3 separate regions of the Homo sapiens genome follow, and regions 2 and 3 are each linked to region 1. The links are contacts of gene promoters, found by promoter capture Hi-C in blood cells and fetal thymus (Javierre and others, 2016). All regions are on one chromosome and are shown on one strand. Each heading gives the region's core, a stretch centred on a gene start or on the middle of the fragment in contact. The rest is flanking DNA. Distances are from core to core; before and after follow the strand shown. Region 1 holds the start of HMGA2 (high mobility group AT-hook 2). Region 2 overlaps MSRB3 (methionine sulfoxide reductase B3). Region 3 overlaps LINC02389 (long intergenic non-protein coding RNA 2389).

Region 1 (3,337 bases), core at 829-3,328:
TTTATACCCTTGTTATAAATTCAAAAGGGGTCAAATAGTCTAATAGCAAAATGATAGCAGCCTGAAAACAAGTGGCTGTATATTCCCCCACCCCCAATTTTTCTGTGCTTCTCTTATATTCAAAGATTAACGCAAAAACAAAATTTTGGAATCTGCTCTTTGCTGACCTCTGTACACGTTACCAAAAAAAAAAAAATCCTAGGATATAATGAGGTATACAGCACAAAACTGGCTGGCTGAACTCCTCAGTGACTCCCCTGCATTCACCTTCAGAATTTCTCTCTACTCCTGGCAAAAAGTGAGCAAACAACACAAACCCAAAAACCTATTTTGTACGTGTATGTGAAATGTGCACACCACAGTGCAAATATGTGATAGTTTTTAAATGTGCACGATTGGCAGTTAGGAAATGTCACTGTAATCGTTAGGTGAAACTTCAATCCCTTTGATGAAGATACCATCTTTGAGCCAAGCCCTGACAGAAAACCTTTGGTTCCTGTTAGACCCCTCCCTCCCCAGTCAGCTGCTGGGCTCCATCCGGAGGGATGGAGGCTCTCTCTCTCCATTACAGCTAAGCGTTCCCAGACCCAGCAGAAACCCTGGGTTCCTGCAGAGCACTCAACGTGCAGCAAAGTGTCCCAGCTCTGCAAAGGGCAGCTGGAAATGGATTTAAAATGGCAACGCGGACCAATCAGCGCTGCCGCGCCAAAGCAGACATTTACACGCGCCTCCTCCACATGCACAGCGGAACCTGGCGGTGCCTAACTCCTGCTTAGGGCTGCAAAGTAGGCGTTTTTATTCCACGGTGGTCTGTATCTTTGAAAAAAATAAATTCTTCCCCAGGTGAAAGTTTTTATTTTGGAATTAGTCCAAAATAATTTTGGGTGTGATGTGTGAAAATCTGAACCTAATTTTTTCAGAGTTTTGTGTTATTCAAGGATGAAAAGAGGTACATTTAAAAATGTACTCCACCTTTTAAAAACGGACTGTGGCCATTATGGTGTTCACATAACTCAGAACAGCCCAGGCCATAAAATTAGGACTTGGCAGAAAGAGAGTTCTCAGGCAGAAGGTTAAATCGAGGTAAACTGAAGGGAGAGTTGGGCAGTGAGTGCAATTGTGGTGTTAGGAATCTACAAGGTGCCCTTTACCCTGGGAACATCGGATTCCCGGGGAGGGGGATGGGGAGGGAACTTCGGTTGCCTCTAGTCTTTCCTGGAGAAAAAAGTTCAATGAAGAAGCTGGGGCGCTCTGTGTGTGCACATTGTTTGCATGTGTCTGCGAATGTGCATGTCTATCTGCGTGCCTGTGTGTATGTGTGTGTGTGTAAATGCGGGTGTTTACCAGCGCATGAATGCCCCCGTGTCCACGTGTATCTGCGTGCATGTGCTTACACGCGTGTTCGTGTGTATCTGCATGCATGTCTCCGTGTATGTGCGCGCTCGCCCGCCCGCAGGCTCTGTGGTGAGGGCATTCCGAGGCGGAGTACGGCTGTCAGGGGACCTCTCCCACTCCACTGCAGTCCCTTCCCACTCACAGTGAACCGGTGCGCTGCCTGAGGTGCAGCCTAGACGCTTCCTGCAAAGTGTTGGCTCGGCACGGTAGAGGCGCAGGTAAAGGCCAAGCCCCGAAACGTGGCTCCGGGACAGTCACGTTCCCGCGCCTTCCCAGGACAACTGCCCAGGGGTGACCTCGAGAGGCGGGTGGAGCTAGGCCCACGGCGAGCCAGCCCGGGATCCCCGGCCTGTCCCTTTAACCCCGCCGCCGGGCGGGAGCACGTGAGCGGGGCTCCGGGTGGCACCCGGGCGCCGCCGCCGCCGAGGCAGTTGTATTTCGAACGCTGCCTCTGGCTAGCAGCCAGGCGCCTTGGCTCGGCGGTCCGCCTGGCCTCCCTCCTCCTCATACTTTTCTTCCTGCGCAACCCCCTCCCCTTTATCCGCCCACGATTAGAGGTGGGCACTCCCCCCACCACCACCCCCTCCCCAAGCGCAAGCGCGTGCACGCACACACACCACACACACTCACACTCACACACACTCACACACACTCATCCCACTTGAATCTTGGGGCAGGAACTCAGAAAACTTCCAGCCCGGGCAGCGCGCGCTTGGTGCAAGACTCAGGAGCTAGCAGCCCGTCCCCCTCCGACTCTCCGGTGCCGCCGCTGCCTGCTCCCGCCACCCTAGGAGGCGCGGTGCCACCCACTACTCTGTCCTCTGCCTGTGCTCCGTGCCCGACCCTATCCCGGCGGAGTCTCCCCATCCTCCTTTGCTTTCCGACTGCCCAAGGCACTTTCAATCTCAATCTCTTCTCTCTCTCTCTCTCTCTCTCTCTCTCTCTCTCTCTCTCTCTCTCTCTCTCTCTCGCAGGGTGGGGGGAAGAGGAGGAGGAATTCTTTCCCCGCCTAACATTTCAAGGGACACAATTCACTCCAAGTCTCTTCCCTTTCCAAGCCGCTTCCGAAGTGCTCCCGGTGCCCGCAACTCCTGATCCCAACCCGCGAGAGGAGCCTCTGCGACCTCAAAGCCTCTCTTCCTTCTCCCTCGCTTCCCTCCTCCTCTTGCTACCTCCACCTCCACCGCCACCTCCACCTCCGGCACCCACCCACCGCCGCCGCCGCCACCGGCAGCGCCTCCTCCTCTCCTCCTCCTCCTCCCCTCTTCTCTTTTTGGCAGCCGCTGGACGTCCGGTGTTGATGGTGGCAGCGGCGGCAGCCTAAGCAACAGCAGCCCTCGCAGCCCGCCAGCTCGCGCTCGCCCCGCCGGCGTCCCCAGCCCTATCACCTCATCTCCCGAAAGGTGCTGGGCAGCTCCGGGGCGGTCGAGGCGAAGCGGCTGCAGCGGCGGTAGCGGCGGCGGGAGGCAGGATGAGCGCACGCGGTGAGGGCGCGGGGCAGCCGTCCACTTCAGCCCAGGGACAACCTGCCGCCCCAGCGCCTCAGAAGAGAGGACGCGGCCGCCCCAGGAAGCAGCAGCAAGTCAGTACGAGGGCGCGGTGGGGGCACCAGCCCACCCCGTCCCCACTGCCGGGGCCCAGACACGCGCGGGGCGGCCGGAGTGCGGGAGCCCAGTCGCCGCGGCCGTCGCACACTGCCCGCCGGCCGGCCGGGGGGAGCGGCGCAGACCCCACGAGTGCGCCGCGCGGCCCCGGGGCGCCAGCAACCCTCCGGGCGGGGAGGTGGGGAGCCGCGGCGGGCGGCCCGGGGAAGGCGGGAGGTGGGGTCGGGCGAAGCGCGTCCTCGGACTTTCGCTATTGTGCACGGCCCCGAGTGGCGCGGTGTCGCCCAGTGACTGGAAGCGACCGGGATCCGACAAACCCGGGCTCGCAGGCGCTTTCC
Region 2 (3,135 bases), core at 601-3,100, 520 kb before region 1:
GGAAATCCAAAGCAAGTGACTTTGTCTTTAAAGGAGATGAGCTGAAAGATCATACATGACATTGAGTTACATTCCATTTTCCACAACTTAGTATCATGTTCACATCTAGCTGCAAGGGAAGGTGAGAAATGAGGCTGTATGTTCAGTTAAAATTTCAGGGGGTTCTATTACTAATAAGAAGAAGGGAGTATGGATTCTAGGGGTCAGTTAGCGTTTTCCAGTCTAGTTGGTGTCTTCTAACCCTCTACTTTATAAGAGGAGGACACTGATACCCTGAGTCTTTCCTCCACCTTTCTTTCCAGCCTTCTTTACATTTTGTTGCTATATAGTTTTTGTTTCACAATGTGAACTTGCTAATGCTTACAGTCTGTTCTGAAATCACAGTCAAATATTTGTCCATAGGTTGTCTCTAAAAGCTTATATTGTTATGACTATGTGCACATCGATTACTTCCAGGTCACAATGTGAGCTATTAATGTGGTTCCTTCTCATTAGTTCCAGGGTCATGATCTCAGCTGTTGAAAGAAACAGACATTTTTCTATCATCATGGCAAATGGATTGATTTTCCTTGTATTTGTTGATTGATTTAAAATCAAAAGTTGTATCTGTAAGGTCTGGATTTAGGCATTGACTTGCTAGATCACTAGCTTTCTACAGTGAATGTGCTTAGTGTCCAATAAACTTTCAATTGCTTCAGGAAATAAGATCTTCACATCGTCATTTTATTGTGACCAGAAGCTACTCAGTCACTTTTGCAGCTGAGGAAAATCTTTAGTTTTTGGTGTTGAGACAAGTTTATGAGCTCTGAGTGATCAAAGTCAAGTAGCTGTCTCCTGGCCTTTAATGTGGGAATATGAGAGGGCAGCCGTATCTTCTGACTAAATTAAGAATCTCTTTGGGATATTTAGGATAGAAGGGATGACTAATGAGAGAGAAACTATAGACTTTTGGAAGTGGTCTCACTGTCCTTGGCATTAGACTTCTCATCCTTCCAGACTCTGTTGTTTTCTAAAACAAGGACATCAATCTGGGGGCACAAGGGCCCCTGCCCTTGAGGAGTTTGGAATGTAGTAGAAGAGATTAAAATAAAGTTTAGTTCAAATTCTGGCTCCATAATTTACTGGCCATTTAACCTCAAGCAGGTAATTCTCTAAGCTTCAGTTTCAATTGGAACAAATAGCCCCCAAATCCCAATGGTTTAAAATGCTGAAGGTTTAGTTCTTCTTTGTACTGTTTGTTCACTGTGGTTCAGATGGGAGCTCTGCCCCGTATCTCCTTATCCCAGAATTGTGATTAATGGAGCAGCCACCATCTAATTATAGAACATTGCTGTTCCCTGCTGCAGAGGGAGAGAAAGCCCTGGAGGGTCTCACACCAACAGCTAAGTACTCTGGCTTGGAAGCAATACACATAATCATTTCTGCTCACAATTTATTGCCCAGAGCTAGCCAGCCACATGTTCCTACCCAACCACAAGGGGGCCAGGAAGTGCATTCCTACCACGTGCCTGGAAAATGGAGAGCCAGAAATACTGTGTACAGAGTAATAATGACTACTACCTATAGGAGTACCTAGCTCAGGGTTGATGTGAGGATTAAATGAGGTTACACACATATATACACACACACAGACACACACATACACATACACACAGTACAGGTGCTCAAAAATGATTATTGTTAATCTCATTATAGATGTATACATGCAAATATTAAATAATATATATGGAGACTAAAGGCTTTATTATAAGGTTATAAGACTATCATAACATATACGAAAATGCCTTGTAAATAATAACATACTGTGCAAATGCAAGTTGATATCTAGTAGATGTTAGAAGATAAAGCATTAGAGCTTGGATCAAAGTTGGTGCTAGACCTTTGTATTCATCTATCAAGAAATGATGGTTGAAGTTGTAAGAATAGGTAAAATCTACACGGAAATTTTGGAAAACTTGCATTTCCTACTGTGAGCTTGACAGCTTCTCAATATTTAAAAACTTTTCTGATGAAATCAGTGATGATATTAATGAGTATGGTTTTTTGATACCATGTTACGAAATGTTTCAACATAAGAAAGATCTGTATAACTCGGTGAACCAATGTTTTCCAAAGGAACAGTGCAGGATGTTACAAAATCATGGAAGGTTAGAAGGTCCATTCAAAACGCAAGATAGACCAATGGGTTTTAATGTAACAGTATGAGAATTTCGTTGATATGGTTTCAGACTACCATTTGTTGATCTTCGGTGTGATAACAAAAGAATAAAACATACAATTATCTGAAAAGGTTATTAAAATACTCCTCCACTTTCCAGCTACTTATTTGTGTGAGTCTAGATTTTCTTCACGTATGTACTTCAACCAAAACAACGTATCACAACACATTGATTGCAGGAGCAGAGATGAGGATTCAGTTGTTTTCTATTAAGCTAGATAATAAAAAGAGATTTGCAAAAATATAGAACTCTTTCCATTATACATATATTTTTATTTTGGGTAATATAGTTAATTTTCACTATAAATGTCATTTTTATAAATTATTTAAGCTTTCAGGTTAAAATAAAGTTTTACTATTTTAAGAATAGTCATTTTGTAAATTATTTTTTATTTATTTTTAATGGAGTAAACAAATATCTAAAAAGTTTCTCAGCTGTAATTTTTAATAAGTAAATATTGATATTTATAATCATGTAAACAAAAGGTATTTGGAGCCCTTGATAATTTTGGGGAGTGTAAGGAATCCTGAGATCCAAAAGTTTGAGAATGGGTAACCGTAAAGATATAGAGATGAAAGAATACAAATAAAAAGTCTTCCTTCATACAGCTTCTCTTTGGTACCAAACTCCCATATGTCCCTGCCACTCCCTCTCCTAAAGCTGGAAGCAATTCTCTTTCCTGTGAAATTCTGTAATTCTTAATTTCTACCCCTGTTAACTCATTTAGCTTATGTCCCACTTAATGTTCCCACTTAAGCTAATGTTTTTTAACAGCACAGACTATGTCTTACATCTTTTCATGTTCATCAGCACCTGATACATTGTTTTCCATGTAGTAGGAATTTATATAGATGAATTGAGTAAGTTAAAAAAAATTACCTCTTAAAATCACTTGAAAGATCGAGTAAGCATTCTG
Region 3 (3,050 bases), core at 67-2,566, 940 kb before region 1:
TTTTCACATCCAATTCTGTTGGCCTTATAGTCTGGGAAAATTCTCCCAACTCCAACAATGAACTGACTTGGAACTTGAGACTCTGCGGTGCTGATATTGACATCAGAAAATCTGGACACTGCTCCAGGGTTCTTTCATAAAGTCCGAGAGGTCATACTATTTTCATAGCAACATCAGGGCGTGATTTGCCTTTTTCACTCCCATTTTCTCACAAGTATACAAGGAGGTTTTCAGAGGCTGCATAATGTGTGATATCACAACAGCTTGAATGCAGGAGCAGATAGGAGAACCCAGCTGTCTTCTATTAAACCACATAGGAAAGAGATTTGCAAAAATGTAAAGCAATACTGCTCTTTCACCAAATATTTTTGTTTTGGAAAATGTGGTTATTTTTCATAGAATCTTATTTATGATAATGGATTTATTGTATTTTTAAAAGAATTAAAATATTTTGACTTTACTTATAATACACTAAATAAAAGATATCATGTATAAGCTCTTTAGGGTCCTCATAATTTTTGAGAGCTTATGTTAAGTTTAAATCTTGTCTAAAGAGGTTTAGAGACCATAAATTTTGAGAATTATGAGTCTATGGGATAGTGAAGGAAGATAAACACAAAATAACAATTAATATTTATTGAGTGCTTCCTGTTTGACAGGCACTGTGCTAAGAGCCTTACATGGATTGCCTCCTTTAATTCTCATAACCACCCCTCAGAGTAAATACCAGTGTTTCTTCTTTTATTTTTAAGAGACAGGGTCTCACTTTTCCACGCAGGCTGAAGTGCAGTGGCACAATCATAGCTCGGTGTAATCTTGAACTCCTGGGCTCAAGTGATCCTCCTGCCTTGGCCTCCCAAAATGCTGGGACTACAGGCGCGTGCCACCACGCCTGGCTTTAGTGTTCCTTCTTCTGCAATAGATGAGGAAACTGGAGCTTGGAGAGGATGTTACTTTCTCAAGGTCATAGAGCCAGAGAGTGGCAGAGGATGAAATTGAACCTGGGTGTGTGGCTGTAGCTCCCTTATTCTTAACCACTTGGTGACGGTCCTTCTAAAAGCCTGTCCCCCCAACCCCCAAACCACTGCACTAATGTGATGTAATGGAAGATTGTGATCTGGGAGGCAACGGGAGAGGATATTGTACTACAGACACTCAGAAAATCTTTCTCTCTCAGAGTCAGGGTTGGACTGGAACAACTGCTGGCCTCTCATGGTGTGTGCACACCACATGGGCAACTAGATCCTAAAATACAGTGACCCACACTGGTGTCCCTCCTCTTTTAAGTTGCTTTGGGAACAAAAGGGCCATGATTATTAAAAAGTCATAGTTTTGCAGGAAATGGAAGCCAAGACCCATTAACAGGGGTACAGCTAATGGGCATGGTGTATGAAAGAGGCAAGGGCCGCTTGGCATTGTTTTTCACTCTTAGATAAAGCCGGAAAGGACGTCAGAACAATGGCATGTTTTAGCCTAAAGAGAAAAAAAAGTATGTTTCTAATCTGAGGGAAAAATGATGGTGTGTTAAAGAATATGAATTAGTGGATGCTAAAGAGGTCTGTTATTACTCACAAGGGCTAATATTCACACAGAATTGAATTTGACTAGGCTGGCAGAAAAACTTCCAAATATTCCTTTCTGTCCAATGCAGGGATCAGGCATTATCGCCCCAAGGCAGATTTGCCTTAATTGGGCATACATTTGCGAACATTAGCATAATGCCTTTCCATTTCTTCTATTATCTTAACAAATTGCTTTACATTGGCTCTCCTATTGCCTTATCTTTCTTGCCAATAGCACTTGATGGCCCAGTGAAAGGCACTTGGACTTCCCTAAAGATATGCAAACTTCATTAGCCTTGGTTCTTTAAAGGTGTTAGGCTACGCTTTCAAGTCAAAAGTCTGGGATAGTGTCAAGGGATAGGGTGGACTGTCAGAGTAAGAGACACCATGGGTTTGCTGCTTGGCTTCCTTAGTTAACACACTGTGTTTTGCCATGTGAAGGGAGAACTGACAAGGTATTTGGGAACTGAAAAATCGTAGTTACAACTGAGTTCACAAAACTCTGAGCTGGAGTTGGACATGACATTACGGCTTCTCCTGGTAGACGACCTGTGTTCCTCAAGGTCTCCCAAAGGCATGACTAACCACTCTCCTCGGTGTTATCCCGATTCTCCAGTGAGCCATGACCTCATATTATTGACACTAAGAGCAATGTTCTCAGGCCAGGATGGGATTCTGGAGCTTCACAGACCAGTAAAGTCACATTCCTTCCCTCACGGAGTTTAAAGTCCCGCAGGGAAGGACAGTTGGGTGAACGAAAGGCAAACACCAAATGGTAAATGCACACTTGGGAGCTTCCTCTTCTTTGAGATAAGAAGGAAGGCTGAAGAAACAGGAATGTTGAGAAGCTGGTGTGGGGAAGTACAGCAGGTAGAGGTGGGAGAGAGTGACGGAATCTCTACTCCATTTGAACAGGAGATGGGAGTTTGGGCTGTAAGTGAAGGAGGTGGGGGAAATTGCGCTGCAGGAAAGAGAGAGAGAGGTGAAATGAAATAATTGCAGTGGACGTTGGAAATTTAAATCAGATTTAAAAATACTCCTGCCCCCTGGCTTAGGAAAAAAATGAACATAGGTAAGCCTTATCGAAATAAACATCTTCCTTCCATTTCATTTGTTCCTGTTTATGTTTGGAGGATTTGTATTTGATCAGATAGTTAATAAACAGATGAAATATGAGTACAAAGAGAAAGAGTTGCCGTTCCTATAAAATCTAAGATGAAAGCTTTGGAAAGGCTCGATAAAACTGAGTTACCAAAAAAGCATCATTGAATAAAAGGTGAGAGAGACAACTATAAGAGAAAAAAAATCATAAAAATCAGCGGAGGGAATTTTGTTTCACAAGTGTCTTAAGGTTCTCACCATATAATAAGCAAACGCTGGGCACTGTATATGATGTACAATGGTTTGGTTTGTGCAACAGAGACTAGCAGCAACTTGGTGGATCTGCATTCAGGAAAGAGACCCTGGCCATGCATCACATGATTGGTG

What was found. Contacts are between HindIII fragments. The CHiCAGO score rates a contact against its expected background, and 5 or more counts as called.
Region 2: a fragment that was not itself captured here is called in contact with the fragment with the promoter of HMGA2 in region 1 in 2 of 17 cell types (megakaryocytes and endothelial precursors); the score reaches 9.6 in megakaryocytes.
Region 3: a contact is called between a fragment that was not itself captured here and the fragment with the promoter of HMGA2 in region 1, in 1 of 17 cell types (naive B cells). The highest score is 5.3, in naive B cells.

Annotation. Positions count from the first base shown.
Region 1 is chr12:65,822,405-65,825,741 of GRCh38, forward strand. It overlaps HMGA2 (high mobility group AT-hook 2), which reads left to right and starts at 2,079. Exons shown (of 5, transcript NM_003483.6): 1 at 2,079-2,977. The coding sequence starts at 2,867. It also overlaps the pseudogene RPSAP52. RefSeq lists an enhancer at 3,199-3,337. The HindIII fragment of the contact is 7,944 bases long and covers 1-3,337 here.
Region 2 is chr12:65,299,477-65,302,611 of GRCh38, forward strand. All of the region lies in intron 1 of MSRB3 (methionine sulfoxide reductase B3), which reads left to right. Among named protein-coding and RNA genes, the nearest start is that of MSRB3, 22 kb to the left of the region's middle. The HindIII fragment of the contact is 1,393 bases long and covers 1,155-2,547 here.
Region 3 is chr12:64,887,794-64,890,843 of GRCh38, forward strand. All of the region lies in intron 1 of LINC02389 (long intergenic non-protein coding RNA 2389), which reads left to right. Among named protein-coding and RNA genes, the nearest start is that of LINC02389, 5.5 kb to the left of the region's middle. RefSeq lists enhancers at 1,060-1,702, 1,703-2,344. The HindIII fragment of the contact is 2,931 bases long and covers 1-2,782 here.